Regions from separate parts of the Homo sapiens genome. Here all the other regions are linked to region 4. The links are contacts of gene promoters, found by promoter capture Hi-C in human tissues and cell types (Jung and others, 2019). All regions are on one chromosome and are shown on one strand. Each heading gives the region's core, a stretch centred on a gene start or on the middle of the fragment in contact. The rest is flanking DNA. Distances are from core to core; before and after follow the strand shown. Region 1 overlaps DDB2 (damage specific DNA binding protein 2). Region 2 holds the start of NR1H3 (nuclear receptor subfamily 1 group H member 3). Region 3 overlaps MTCH2 (mitochondrial carrier 2). Region 4 holds the start of PSMC3 (proteasome 26S subunit, ATPase 3).

The links. The method cuts DNA at HindIII sites, captures the fragments that hold promoters and counts their contacts. A contact is called where the count stands out against the background at its distance.
Region 1: a contact is called between a fragment that was not itself captured here and the fragment with the promoter of PSMC3 in region 4, in 2 of the 25 tissues and cell types used here (dorsolateral prefrontal cortex and lymphoblastoid cells).
Region 2: a fragment that was not itself captured here is called in contact with the fragment with the promoter of PSMC3 in region 4 in 1 of the 25 tissues and cell types used here (mesenchymal stem cells).
Region 3: a fragment that was not itself captured here is called in contact with the fragment with the promoter of PSMC3 in region 4 in 1 of the 25 tissues and cell types used here (lymphoblastoid cells).

The regions. Positions count from the first base shown.
Region 1 is chr11:47,232,579-47,236,112 of GRCh38, reverse strand. It overlaps DDB2 (damage specific DNA binding protein 2), which reads right to left. Exons shown (of 10, transcript NM_000107.3): 4 at 3,154-3,299; 5 at 1,441-1,540; 6 at 1,179-1,356; 7 at 701-843. Among named protein-coding and RNA genes, the nearest start is that of ACP2, 14 kb to the left of the region's middle. The HindIII fragment of the contact is 6,251 bases long and covers 1-3,534 here.
Region 2 is chr11:47,254,881-47,258,487 of GRCh38, reverse strand. NR1H3 (nuclear receptor subfamily 1 group H member 3) reads right to left here and starts at 492. Exons shown (of 10, transcript NM_005693.4): 1 at 359-492. The HindIII fragment of the contact is 3,305 bases long and covers 1-3,034 here.
Region 3 is chr11:47,615,171-47,618,379 of GRCh38, reverse strand. It overlaps MTCH2 (mitochondrial carrier 2), which reads left to right. Exons shown (of 13, transcript NM_014342.4): 13 at 1-1,063. Among named protein-coding and RNA genes, the nearest start is that of C1QTNF4, 22 kb to the right of the region's middle. RefSeq lists a silencer at 768-827. The HindIII fragment of the contact is 5,124 bases long and covers 1-3,209 here.
Region 4 is chr11:47,425,059-47,428,221 of GRCh38, reverse strand. It overlaps PSMC3 (proteasome 26S subunit, ATPase 3), which reads left to right and starts at 1,783. Exons shown (of 12, transcript NM_002804.5): 1 at 1,783-2,017; 2 at 2,272-2,355; 3 at 2,976-3,101. The coding sequence starts at 1,943. RefSeq lists silencers at 1,545-1,674, 1,945-2,156 and an enhancer at 1,775-1,974. The HindIII fragment of the contact is 16,812 bases long and covers 1-3,163 here.

The DNA of each region.
Region 1 (3,534 bases), core at 41-2,540, 190 kb after region 4:
AAAAATAAAAAAATTAGCTGGGTATGGTGGCGCATACCTGTAGTCCAATCTACTTCCGAGGCTAAGGCGGAAGGATTGCTTGAACCCAGGAGGTTGAGGCTGCAGTGAGCTATGTTTGTGCCACTGCACTCCAGCCTGGGTGACAGAGCAAGACCGTTTCAAGAAAAAAAAAAAAAAAAAAAAAAAGGATCAGCCTGGGTAACACAAGAATACCCTGTCTCTACAAAAAAAAAAAAAGTGAGGCAGGAGGATCGCTTGAGCCTGGGAGATCAAGGCTGTAATGAACCATGCTTGCCCCACTGTACTCCCACCTGGGTGACAGAGCGAGACCCTGCCTTAAAAAAAATAATAAAAAAATAAAAAATGAAGGTTTGTGGGTCAACTGTACACAGGTAACTGAAGCTGAGAAGACAGAACAGAGGGTCAGGATCTTAGAAAATTCTCACAGTGAGATCAGAGCTGGGCTGAAAAAACTCAGAAAAATATCTTATCAGCGAGACAGAAAACTCAACCATATGGGATGGCAGAAGTGGGATAAAAGGAAGAGAGAGAGCCAATGGGTAAGAGATGCTCTGTGCTCGGGCCAGGAGCGATCTGGGGTGGCAGGCTTACCACATCAGCCCTTCCCCACTGTGGGCAGACCTGCTCCGGCCTCATGATCACAGCCTCCTTCTGCGAGCTCCTTCCCACCGCCACTCACCTTGATGGGTGTGAGGTGCTGGAAGTGACGGTGAGGGTGCGGGATCAGGCCCAGGGGGCAGTCCCACTGGGAAGCAGAGTAAACTCGGATCTCGCTCTTCTGGTCCGTGGTCAGGAGCCGGGCTCCATCGGGACTGAAACAAGCTGGCAAAGTGAAAAGCCCCTGAGCTGAAGGAACCACAAGCCCTCTGTGGTCCTGGCCTTGCAGGCCTTCTCCTGCAGGGGTACTCTCCCTCCCACTCCTCTCTAGACAGGAGCGGAAAGGAAGAGGTGAATCTGGGCTGTGAACAACAACAAAAAAATTCTGGAAACTCAGCAGCTGATGGGGACAGCCACAGCCACAAAGGTTCCCAGACATCAGCTTGGCAGACGCTATCAGGGGTAAAGGTTTGACGTAGTGGCTTCCACACTGAGGGAAAACCCCAGCAGTGGTCAGACAGGCAGGGTCTGCAGGAGAGATGAGGTCTGGGATATCACACCTGCGTTGACAGGATGCCTGTGCGGCAGCGAGTAGAGGAAGCTGGCTTTCCCTCTAACCTGGCGCAGGTCCCAAATTTTCACTGTTTGATCTACGGAGGCTGTGGCCAGGAACCAATCACAGCATGGGTTCAGGGCCACATGCGTCACTTTCTTTTTGTGCATTCTGAGATTCCAAAGCTGCAGAGAAGAGCTCGGTTCAGGTGGGGACACAGAACCGAGGTGGGGGTGAGGGAGGGAAAGGCAGGACCTCGGAGAACGCACCTCTTTGCCGTCCATGTTCAGCAGGATCACGTTCCCCACGTTGTCTCCTGTGACCACCATTCGGCTACTAGCAGACACATCCAGGCTACAAAACCAGATGCTGGAGGGAGAGACTGTGTTGTAAGATTCTTGGGGACAGAGATAGTCCTATTTACTCACTGTTGCCGCTCCGGTGACTAACCCACAGCGGGCATTCAATAAATATTTGTTGAATGAATGAATAACTGTCTTGCCGTGGATTCCTAGTGAGGAACATTCAGACTGCTCTACCGTCCAGACAGAGGGGATGGGATAATGGGGCTCAGAAATCTGTCTGGTTATGGCTGGGCCCAGGATCCCCAGCTCCTAAAAGTCCCTGAAGCAGACAAAGCTTATACCATAAAGCAAGCCCTGAGGCACGCCTGCCCCCCACACCCCGGGTTCTGAGCAAGCCTCCTTTACTGCTCTCTCCTTTCACTCTTCACCCTTTAGGCCAAAGGAGACACAAGCCAAAGAGGGATTGCCTGGCCCTGTTCCTCAGAGCTGGCTAGAAAAGCACTTCTGCCCCCTTCTGAACACTGGGGGAAAAAACACAACCAGGAGCTCTTCTGGTCCCTCAAACCACTGGACTGGGAGGCTGACTAGGAGGGTGCTTCAGGGATCCTGCTATTCAGCCAGAAGAGCTCAGCTCACAGTTTTTCTCTCAAACTCTCAAATCCATGCTACACTGCCTTTTGCCATCCCCTATGAATATCTTCAAGCAGGAAGATTTCTTGCGGAAGAGTAGCCTGGAGCCTTGTCTATCCAATTGCCTGCTGATTTGCGTGCGCATGCACTCCTCATCCCTGCGGGACAGCCCAGGATCCAATCCAATGCTAGTTACACCCCAGCACCCTCACTTAATTCCTCAGGGAGCAGTCAGAGTCACGGCTCTAGCTGGAAATCAAAGTGACGAGTATTCTGTAATTTTTTTTTTTTTTTTTTGAGATAGATTTTCGCTCTTGTTGCCCAGGATGGAGTGCAATGGCGCCATCTCGGCTCACTGCAACCTCTGCCTCCTGGGTTCAAGCGATTCTCTTGCTTCAGCCTCCCAAGTAGCTGGGAATTACAGGGGCCTACCACCACGCCCAGCTAATTTTTTGTATTGTTAGTAGAGATGGGGGTTTCACCATGTTGGCCAGGCTGGTCTCGAACTCCTGACCTCAGGTGATCCACCCACCTTGGCCTCCCAAAGTGCTGGGATTTCAAGCATGAGCCACTGCACCCGGCCGCATTCTGTAATTTCTCCAGCCACTTTCTCTTGGGAAGTCCAGAGCACTTTATGGAAAAGATTCCATCCATATAAGCTTCCACCCAGGAACAGGTCAGGTCATTACACCACAGTGAGTGCAGGGCATTCAGTCTCAAGTTCTGAGCTGTTGCTCCATTCTCTAGGTGGCTTTCTGGGTCCACGCCATGCTGGCTTATCTAGTGAGGGTCAAGGTCCAGTCTAATACAGGTATGACTTACAGAAGAGCTGAGGCTCCAGAACACCTTCCCAAAGCAGTAACCCACCTGGACCAAAGTGAGGGCAGCCAAGGAGCAGTTTGAGAAAGAGAAAGAAGGGCGGAAAGTGGCTGACATCTTTCCTTTCTTCCCTGGGCCAGGTTGGGTTAAGGAAATGGGATCTGGATGCTCTTGCCGGAACTACACCTAAGCTTAGAAGCCCTTTCCCCTGCTAGTTAAACTACTCACTTGATGGTGTCTGAGCTGGCAAAAACTCGTAGAATGTTGCCTTTAAAGTCTTGCAGCCTAGTTGTTCCCTCCATTGAGGAGGCGTAAAACTGGTTGGTATTGAGAGGGTTAAACTTCAGCCCAGTGATGCTCCCTCCAGCTCCAATCTAACACGAGGAAGGAAAAAGCCAGTGAGTGATGATGGGCCTGGCCGTGAGGAACCAGGCCTGGGCACACATGCTGCGCCGTCACAGAAGCACCCCTCGAGCAGCGCTTGGGGCCAGGTCAGCTTAGACACTAGGACGCTCTCTACAGGGCCTTCACTTCTTTTTCTTTTCCTTTGAAATAGGGTCTTTCTCTGTCACTTAGGCTGAAGTGCAGTGGCACAAACACGGCTCACTG
Region 2 (3,607 bases), core at 133-2,632, 170 kb after region 4:
TGTTTGGGTGCATCTGCCCTGCTTCTCTTGGGCCCCTTCCCCCTCACTCCAACACTGAGGACAGCTCACTCCACCCAGTGAAACACGCTGCTTATTAGAGAACCTCGCTCGTGCCACTTTCCAGGGTCCCAGCACAAACCTGTCTCCAAGAATCTCCCCAATTCACATAGAGGACCTCCTCCCCTGAGCCCCTCATGAGTTATTCTGGGACCCAGAGTCCTGCTCCTGTCCCAAGCTTCCATCACCATCACCCCTCACTTCTCCCCAGAAACCCCCTTCTCAGATCCTTAGGACATTCCCCGACCCCACCCCAGATACACACACAGAGCCCCAGGCCACTGCTAAGGAGCAGACCCACCAAATCCCCAGGCCACCAGACTTCCTGGGTGGGCAGTCTCTGGAGCCCCCTTGCTGGGAGAAGAGGATGGTGCAGTTTCCTGTCCAGAAGTCTCGGTGGCCAGCCAGTGAGCTGGAGCTGAGCACAAGCAGGACCTGGAGCCCCAGAGAAGTAGCAATTTGGGGAAAGGCTGAGGGGAGGGACTGCCGAGGGGTCAGGCCACCCCTCCTTCCTGCCTGGTGACCACAGCCCTCCCCTCCTCACCCCCGCCCACAGGGCAGCTTCTCCACCAGGCTGGCTCCTCCCCAGCCGGCCACCCCCTCTCCCGCCACTCCCGCCCCCTACTCCCGGCCAAAACAGTGGCATTTCCCTGCAGACCAGCCAAGTTCCATGTCTCTCCCCTTCCTCTCCTTACCCAGCGCTCTTAGCAGCTCTTGCAAAAGGACTGCCTCCCAGGAACCCCCACCCCAATCCCAGCAGCCTCCAGAATCGTGTTCCCTCCCCTCCATAGGCACCTCGTGGAGCAAAGGTCCCAGCACGGCCCGGAATTGCGACACTGAGCCCCAGCGGCTTTCCCAGCCTCCCTCCTCCTCCCTTGCCTCTGGGAAGAGGCCAAGAAGCTCTCCCCACTAGCCCCAGGCCTCAGCCAAGCTGGTAGAAATCCAGGGGTGGAGAGAGGCAGGTGCTGGGCCTTCCAGGGAGTTTCTGAAAGTGGGTGCCCTGCGGGGGCCACAGATAAGAGAGGAGGCCAGGAGAGCCTTTGATAGGAAATCTGCTATGAGCAGTGGCAGGCCTGGGATAGGGGTGGAGGTGGCAGAAGGAAGACAGGCAACTCAGGTGGCAGCCCAGGATGGACCTGGGAAGGTATGCGGGTTGCCTCTTCTGGGGAACAACCCCATCTGAAGTGATGGCAGGCTCCAACCAGCAGCTACTGAGACTATAGTCATTCTTCCTACTCTGCTGCCTGGGGCATGAAATCCATCCCTGAAAGTAGACATCATATTTTATTGATTTCATCTCCCCCAACACCCCTGAAACAGGGCTGGCATAGATGTGGCAACAGAGTAGGTACTGTGTTCCTATTTGTTGAATGAATAACAAGAAAAATATAATATATTCTCGGCCGGGCGCGGTGGCTCACGCCTGTAATCCCAGCACTTTGGGAGGCCGAGGCAGGCGGATCACGAGGTCAGGAGATCGAGACCATCCTGGCTAACACGGTGAAACCCCGTCTCTCCTAAAAATACAAAAAATTAGCCGGGCATGGTGGCAGGCGCCTGTAGTTCCAGCTACTCGGGAGGCTGAGACAGAAGAATGGCGTGAACCCGGGAGGCAGAGCTTGCAGTGAGCCGAGATTGCGCCACTGCACTCCTGCCTGAGTGACAGAGCGAGACTCTGTCCCCAAAAAAAAAAAAAAAAGAAATATTATTCTCGTCTATCCCGTACTTATTAGCCCTAGTCAATTTTTTTTATTATTCCTTTTTTTTTTTTTTTTTACCTTTTTTGGGGTAGGGTCTCACTATGTTGCCCAGGCTGGCTTCACACTCCTGGGCTCAAGCCATCCTCCCACCTCAGCCTTCCAAAGTGCTAGGATTACAGGCACACGCCATCACAACTGCTGTAGTCAATTTCAACTCAGCATGTTGATTTAGCGTTCAGACTCTGGGCTCAGATTTTGGGTTCAAATCCTAAACCTCTTATTACCTATGTGATCTTGATTGAGCAAGTTACTTAACGTCTCTGAATCTTTGTTTCCCTATCTTTAAAATAAGAATAGTTGAGCCAGCAATGGTGTGTTGAAAAATAAATAGAACGGGCACGGTGGCTCACGCCTGTAATCCCAGCACTTTGGGAGGCCTAGGCGGGTGGATCACTTGAGGTCAGGAGTTCGAGACCAGCCTGGCCAACATGGTGAAACCCCGTCTCTACTAAAAATACAAAAGTTAGCCAGGCATAGTGATGCGGGTCTGTAATCCCAGCTACTCGGGAGGCTGAGGGAGGAGAATCACTTGAATCTGGGAGGTTGCAGTGAGCCGAGATTGTGCCACCACACTCCAGCCTGGGTGACAGACTGAGACTCCATCTCAAAATAAAAAAAAGAAAAAGAAAGAAAGATAAATAAAATAGGGATAATAGTAATTTTTACCACACAAGGTTGTTGTGGGATTGAAACTACAGATCATGCAGGGTGCGGTGGCTCATGCCTGTAATCCCAGCAGTTTGGGAGGCCAAGGCAGATGGATCACTTGAGGTCAGGAGTTCCAGACCAGCCTGGCCAACATGGTGAAACCCCATCACTACTAAAAATACAAAAAATTAGCCGGGTGTGATGATGCATTCCTGTAATCCCAGCTACTCAGGAGGCTGAGGCAGGAGAATCACTTGAACCTGGCAGGCAGAAGTTGCAATGACCCGAGATCGCGCCATTGCCCTCCAGCCCGGGCAACAACAGCAAAACTCCAAAAAAAAAGAAGAAAGAAAGAGAGAGAGAGAGAGAAAGAGAAAGAAAGAAAGAAAGAAAGAAAGAAAGAAAGAGAGAGAGAGAGAGAGAGAGAAAGAAAGAAAGAAAGAAAGAAAGAAAGAAAGAAAGAAAGAAAGAAAGAAAGAAAAAGAAAGAAAGAAAGAGAGTCTATCACAACGTGTGGCACATAGTGTTTGAGAAATGGCACGAGTTATCATCACCCTCCCAGTTCTTTCAGCTGTAGGTCTTCCCATTGCTTTAACTTGGTGGATTTTGAACTTTGTACTTGTTTCCATACACAGCACAAACCCTTCACTATCTTTTCTGGTCCTTAGAGCAGCGCTGGGAGGAAAGGAGGGTAAGTAACCCGAGCTCCATTTGACAGAGAACACTGAAACTCATGTGAGGGCCTTTTCCAAGACCACACAGTTAGTGGCTGGGCTGGGATCAGAACCCAGATGTCCTCACTCCAGTCCCTTTGCTGTGTCAGAGTCCAGGACAATCTTGTCTTGTTGCGTCTTGGGCCAGTGAAGTGCTGTAATGGAAGCAGCCAGGGCTGGTGGGCTACAGGGGAGAGGCTGAGAACCCTGCAGATGCTCCAGTCCAGATGTGGGAGGCAAGCTGCTGAGGTTACTGCTGGTCATTCACCCCCTGCCCCATTCCCAGTTTCCTGCTCACCGGCTCTTCCTGTTTTGCTATGAACTCCAGTTCCCATGGGCCCCACATTAAAGCATAGAAGGACGGGGGCCAGGGCAAGCAGCCAAAGAGACCGAAACAGATGAACAGGGCACCAGGGAAGAGAACACAGG
Region 3 (3,209 bases), core at 255-2,754, 190 kb before region 4:
GCACCAGAATCTGACTCCCATTATGCTTCTAAGCACATTTCATTGACCTTGTCTCTCATACTTCAAGAAAAGGACAGTACATTGCTACATTACCCTAGAAAGTCTGTGTGAGGATCTGCCCCTTCAGTCTGTTATTGCAAAGTAATAAAATGTCACCTACAGGGAGCCTCTGAGCCTACTCTAGTTCAAGAGGCTACCTGAAAAAAAATAAATAAGATAAAGGGTCAGCAACAACAAAGAAAAAGACAATTACAGAAAATAAGCAAGATTTGGAAAGGAAGTATAATGGCACTTTTTTCCTCAAAGGAAGTTCTTGTTTTCACATAAAATATGAAAAGCAGATCCTGCAGGAGTAACCCCCTTCTTTAAGAGCCAAGTATTTGCCAGTGCTTAAATTACACCATACAGTTCTAATTATATATAATCTTTTGTTCTTCAGTTTTTTGTTTTGTTTCCTTTTTGTTATTGTTGCCGAAGGTGAGTAGTTTTGCATTTCTGATGACAGCCTTGGAAAGTATATTTGTAACTCCATGTCTGGTAATGCCAACCCAAGTCGACATGGGTCTTAGGACACTGACCACCTCACATGCCATACCCTCAGTTAAGCATGTTAACATTTATAGGAGGAAAAAAATCACTTTGGGAGAAAATAAAATTCAACTCAAGCATAAAGCTTCTGTTTACTCAGGCCTTCTAAAAAGCAGGTTAAAATGCTCTAAAATGAGAAAGCCTGTGGTTTCACTTATTTATATAACTCACTGGGACATTGCCAAATGAGTAAGCACTTAATTCGCTGCTTCTGAGACTTCTCTGTCAAAACAGCCCCACTGATAATATTAGACAGAACGAGAATGCAGGGGTCTCTTCCCTCCCCTGGGGTTTAGGAAGCTCATGAGGAGCTCGGCTTAAAATGTCTTTGATGTCTCTTCCTTTGTCTCAAAAAGTAATGTCAATTTTATATACTATTTCAATATTACTATCTGCATTTGTTTTAATATAAAAATGTTTGCTGCCTACCTTTTTCTCCCAAAAAATCTTTAAGTAAAGATGATCTGGGAAAATGTGCCATGTTTATCCTGTGGCTTCTGTGAACTTTCATGCTTGCCTATTCCTAGTTGAGAAGCATGTCTGACTCTGATAACCAGTCTACCACCAGAGGACGCCAAGGCTTCAGTTTTTCCTGTGCAAGTTGGGTGGCTGAGAAATTTCTCCAAGGCCTAGGATTGCTCAAAATACTAGTCCAGCTGTTTCAGTCTTGCTGCATCCAAGCTAGAGGTCTAGTCAGAGTCCTATACCTATGATCCTCCATAATATCTTACTATAAGCTACTAACATAAAAGTCTAAAGATATTCAGGGGCTAGGAAATGCAGGTAGGTGCCATTAAGAAACACATGCGACCGGGCGCAATGGCTCATGCCTGCAATCACAGCACTTTGGGAGGCCGAGGCAGGTGGTTCACCTGAGGTCGAGAATTCGAGACCATCCTGACCAACATGAAGAAACCCTGTCTCTACTAAAAATAACAAAATTAGCCGGGCATGGTGGCACATGCCTGTAATCCCAGCTATGCGGGAGGCTGAGGCAGGAGAATCTCTTGAAACCCAGGAGGTGGAGGTTGCAATGAACTGAGATCACGCCATTGCACTCCAGCCTGGGCAACAAGAGTGAAACTCCCATCTCTTAAAAAAAAAAAAAAGAAAAAAAAAGAAACACATGCAAGAAATAATGAACTCAGTAAGTAATATGAACTTAGGCTGGTTGTGGTGGCCCATACCTGTAATCCTAACACTTTGGGAGGCTGAGGCAGGTGGATCACTTGAGGCCAAGAGTTGGAGACCAGCCTGGCCAATATATCTACTAAAAATACAAAAAAATTAGTCGGGCATGGTGGCACGCACCTGTAGTTCAGGAGGCTGAGGCAGGAGAATCGCTTGAACCTGGGAGCTGGAGGTTGCAGTGACCCAAGATTGTGCCACTGGGTGACAGAGTGAGACTCTGTCTCTTAAAAAAAAGAAAAAGAAAAGTAGGGGTTCTCTAGTAAGCCACTTGTGAAACTGGTTTTCCTTTGTGGTACCAAGCTAAGTTGCCACAAACTGTTCCTCTAGAGTATGTGGTGACCATTGAAACCTTGACTTAAGAAGAGTGTGGGGTGGGCTGGGGGCAGTGGATCACTTGAGTCCAGGAGCTCAAGACCAGCCCGGGCAACATGGTAAAACCCTGTCTCTATTTTTTAAAGAAATAAAGGGAGGAAAATTAGCTGGGCGTGGTGGCACATGCCTGTAATCCCAGCTACTTGGGAGGCTGAGGCATGAGAATCGCTTGAACCCAGGAAGCGGAGGTTGCGGTAAGCTGAGATCGTGCCATTGCACTCCAGCCTAGGCAACAAGAGTGAAACTGCATCTTAAAAATAAAGAAGGTATGGGTTTCCTGGAACTTTGGGGGATCATTATAAAAATACTAGGGTAAAAAAGCAACCTTAGTAATCCCAGCAATTTGGGAGGCCGAGGCGGGTGGATCATGAGGTCAGGAATTTGAGACCAGCCTGACCAACATGGTGAAACCCTGTCTCTACTAATACAAAAATTAGGCGTGGTGGCGGGCACCTGTAATCCCAGCTACTCAGGAGGCTGAGGCAGGAGAATCGCTTGAAATCGGAAGGTGGAGGTTGCAGTGAGCTGAGATTGCCCCACTGCACTCCCGCCTGGTCAACAAGAGTGAAACTCTGTCTCAAAAAAAAAAAAAAGCAACCTTAGGATGAAAGAAACATTCAACATAAGCCCTATATTCCATCATCTCTGTTACCTCAGCATACCTTGACTTAACTATAATTTCCTATTCTAGAAATGTCCTCCCCCTCTTGCCAGTGACATGTTTCTGTACTGTCAGATTCAGTTCTAGTGCCATCTCTTTGTGAAGTCACTGAGAGTCCCAACTGGGTGAGAGGGCTGTGCCTTCAAACTCTCCCTCCTTCAGAGCATGTAATGATAGTACAAACTAACTGACAAAAACTACATCCAACACCAAGTTCATGTTTTATACAGCAGGAGCATTACTTCTCTCTGATTTGAAAATCTGTGGGGGAAAAATATATATTTAGTCCTTTAAAACAGGCCAACTAAAACAGCCTGCTTGGATAATATAGTGAGACCTTTTCTCAACACAAAAATTTAAAAATTAGCCAGGCTTGGTGGTGTGCACCTGTAGTGCC
Region 4 (3,163 bases), core at 534-3,033:
CCAAAAGTAGGCCCCAGAATGGGACCCAACTGACCCAGGCATAGTGGGACCAGCACAGATTGGACAGTCTTTCCCCTCTGGGCTTCTTGGCTCCTATCGGGCAACTCAAAGTGAGAATTTGGGGTCAGCAGTCCTAGTGCTGCCAGTGACTCACTGAATAACCTCCAGCAAGGCACTTAACCTCTCTGAGCCTCCCTATGCTTATTTAAATTTGAGAATGGTAATTCAGTCTGTCCACAAGGCAGGCTTGTTGAGAGAATGGAATAAAGCACTGTTACTTGAGGAGACGCTTTGTCAGCCTGAGTGAGCAGCTGTACATGTTGTTATTTAAAGAAAAAAATTCTGCTTTCAACCGTGTTCCAAAAAAAACTACTGCAAAGGCTAGGTGTAGTGGTTCATGCCTATAGTACCAACACTTTAGGAGGCTGAGGCAGGAAGATCACTTACGCCCAGGAGTTTGAGACCAGCCTGGTCAACATGGTGAAACCTTGTCTCTACTAAAAATACAAAAATTAGTTGGGCGTGGTGGTGGGTGCCTGTAATCCCAGCTACTTGAGAGGCTGAGGCAGGAGAATCCATTGAACCCGGGAGGCGGAGGTTGCGGTAGGGAGAGACCGCGCCACTGCATTCCAGCCTGGGCGACAGAGCGAGACTCCGTCTCAAAAAACAAAAAACAAACAAGCAAACAAAAAAAAGGCAACGATTGCACAGATTTTCATCAGGTTAACAGAGTGTTTGTGATGGTTTGACTTGAAATATAAGCTATGTTGCTTACATGAAGTTCCCTTTAAAGGGGCTCCAGGGCTCACCTCAAAGGATAAGGAGAGATCATTTAAAATAGCCGACAAGGGTACAACGAATGAGTCTCCCATGATCCGGAGACCCGCTCTGCTCACTGAGATTACTAACCATGGTCAGAGAAAACAAACAATTGCAGATACGAGACATAATTTTTTTTGAGACGGAGTCTCGCTCTGTCGCCCAGGCTGGAGTGCAGTGGCGCGATCACGGCTCACTGCAAGCTCCGCCTCCGAGGTTCATGCCATTCTCCTGGCTCAGCCCGGAGTAGCTGGGACTACGGGCGCCCACCACCACGCCCGGCTAATTTTTTGTATATTTAGTAGAGACGGGGTTTCACCGTGTTAGCCAGGATGGTCTCGATCTCCTGACCTCGTGATCCGCCCGCCTCGGCCTCCCAAAGTGCTGGGATTACAGGCGTGAGCCACCGCGCCCGGCCCGAGTCATAATGTTTTTAATCGTAGAGGCTGATGGTCAATTGAGTTCTTCCCACGTGGACAATTCCGTGAAGCCTGCTCTGACGTTAGGAGCAGCAGCGATTTCTCTTTAAAGCTGGTTAATGATTCCCTCCCGTAACTCCGGGTGGCCAGCTTGTACTTAAATAATTGTAAAAATGCGGACTGAGGTGGCATGCCTTTTTGGCCCTTTGCACACGGCTGGCCTATGTCGTTTATTAATTGGGAGGCAGTGTCATTGTGTAAATCCCCTTATTCCTAGCGGGGTCACGGTCTGAGTTTGAACGCGCCCCTCCGCAAGCATCTGTCACGGGCCAGATTAAAGACTACATTTCCCAAAGGCCCTCGCGGATCCCACCCTTCTCCCTCCCTTTCCGGTTTTACACATAGGCCCCGCCCCCAACGCGCGTGTCGGCCAATAGCGGCCCCACCTCTCGCGCCCGGCAAAAATAGGACGCGGGCGGGAACGTTTCGGGGTCCGCGGGGGCGGGGCCTGTGGCCAGGGGTTGGTCTTTGGAATCGGAGAGGCAGATTCGCTGCTCCGCAGCACGGCCGGAGCTGGTCGGGTCAAGAGTCGGGATTTGTGGGGAGAGGTTTTCCACTGGTCAAGAGAAGGCTTTAAGAAAGACGGTATTAATCTCCCGTTGCGGCTCCCGCCTGGTCCCATCTTCTGCCCGCTCCTCCAGGAAATGAATCTGCTGCCGAATATTGAGAGTCCAGTGACTCGGCAGGAGAAGATGGCGACCGTGTGGGATGAGGCCGAGGTGGGCACCGGGCGAGCTGGCGGTCCGGGAACCGGGGCCCGCAGGGAGACGCCATTGACAAGAGGGAAGGAGGTGGCTGGGGGTCAAGGTCTGGCCCGATCCCGGGGACGGGGTTGTTTGGGATGTGGGCAGGGGTCCTGACTCCATCCTGGTTTTATGGGCGTGGAAACTGAGGCTGTGAGTGGGTTCGGAGAACGAGGGATGCTTGTCCTGAGTAAAAGTAAATATATAAATAAACAAATAATTTTTTACAGCAAGATGGAATTGGGGAGGAGGTGCTCAAGATGTCCACGGAGGAGATCATCCAGCGCACACGGCTGCTGGACAGTGAGATCAAGGTGGGCGCACAGCTCCTGTGCGGGCGATGGAGCCCCCACAGGACAGGCCCCGGCGATCCGAGTCGCCTCTCGTACTTCCTAATCGGGCACCCTGGGGGAGACATGGGGCTCGGGCTTCCCCCTCATATCAGGAAGAGAGGAAAGAAAACTAAGCCTTAAAAGGGACAAGAAGACAGGTAGGGGGTGGTGGGAGGCCTGGGCTGAGATGAGAAGTTATCAGATTGCCTTTCCCAGTGAGAACTGGGAATAATCCTCTCAAGAATCCTTCTTTTAGTAAAATGCCTATTTTACAGATGAGGAGACAGGCCCAGAGAGGTTTGTACTGCGATAAAGCACCCAGTTCTTACTATGAGGCAGAACCTAAAACCTATGTTTGCCTCTCTCGGAGGCCTGCTTTTATTCCAATACTACCACTATTTCACCAGGAGGTTTCCAAACTGGCCTCCTCTTTTGACTTCTGCAGGATGTGGACACAGTCAGACTCTGCCTTCAGAGAGCCTCAGAGCTGGATGAATGGATGCGGGAGGGTCCCCTGGGCACCCTGGACCTCACTAGTTACAGGGCTCTAGCATAAGCTGTGCCAGGGTTTATATTTGCTTCTCCTCCCCTCCTGATCTCAGATCATGAAGAGTGAAGTGTTGAGAGTCACCCATGAGCTCCAAGCCATGAAGGACAAGATAAAAGAGAACAGTGAGAAAATCAAAGTGAACAAGACCCTGCCGTACCTTGTCTCCAACGTCATCGAGGTGTGTGTGTATGTGGAGGGGAAGAGAGGGAGTCAGCAGGGAATGGGGACAGCCTGGGGTGG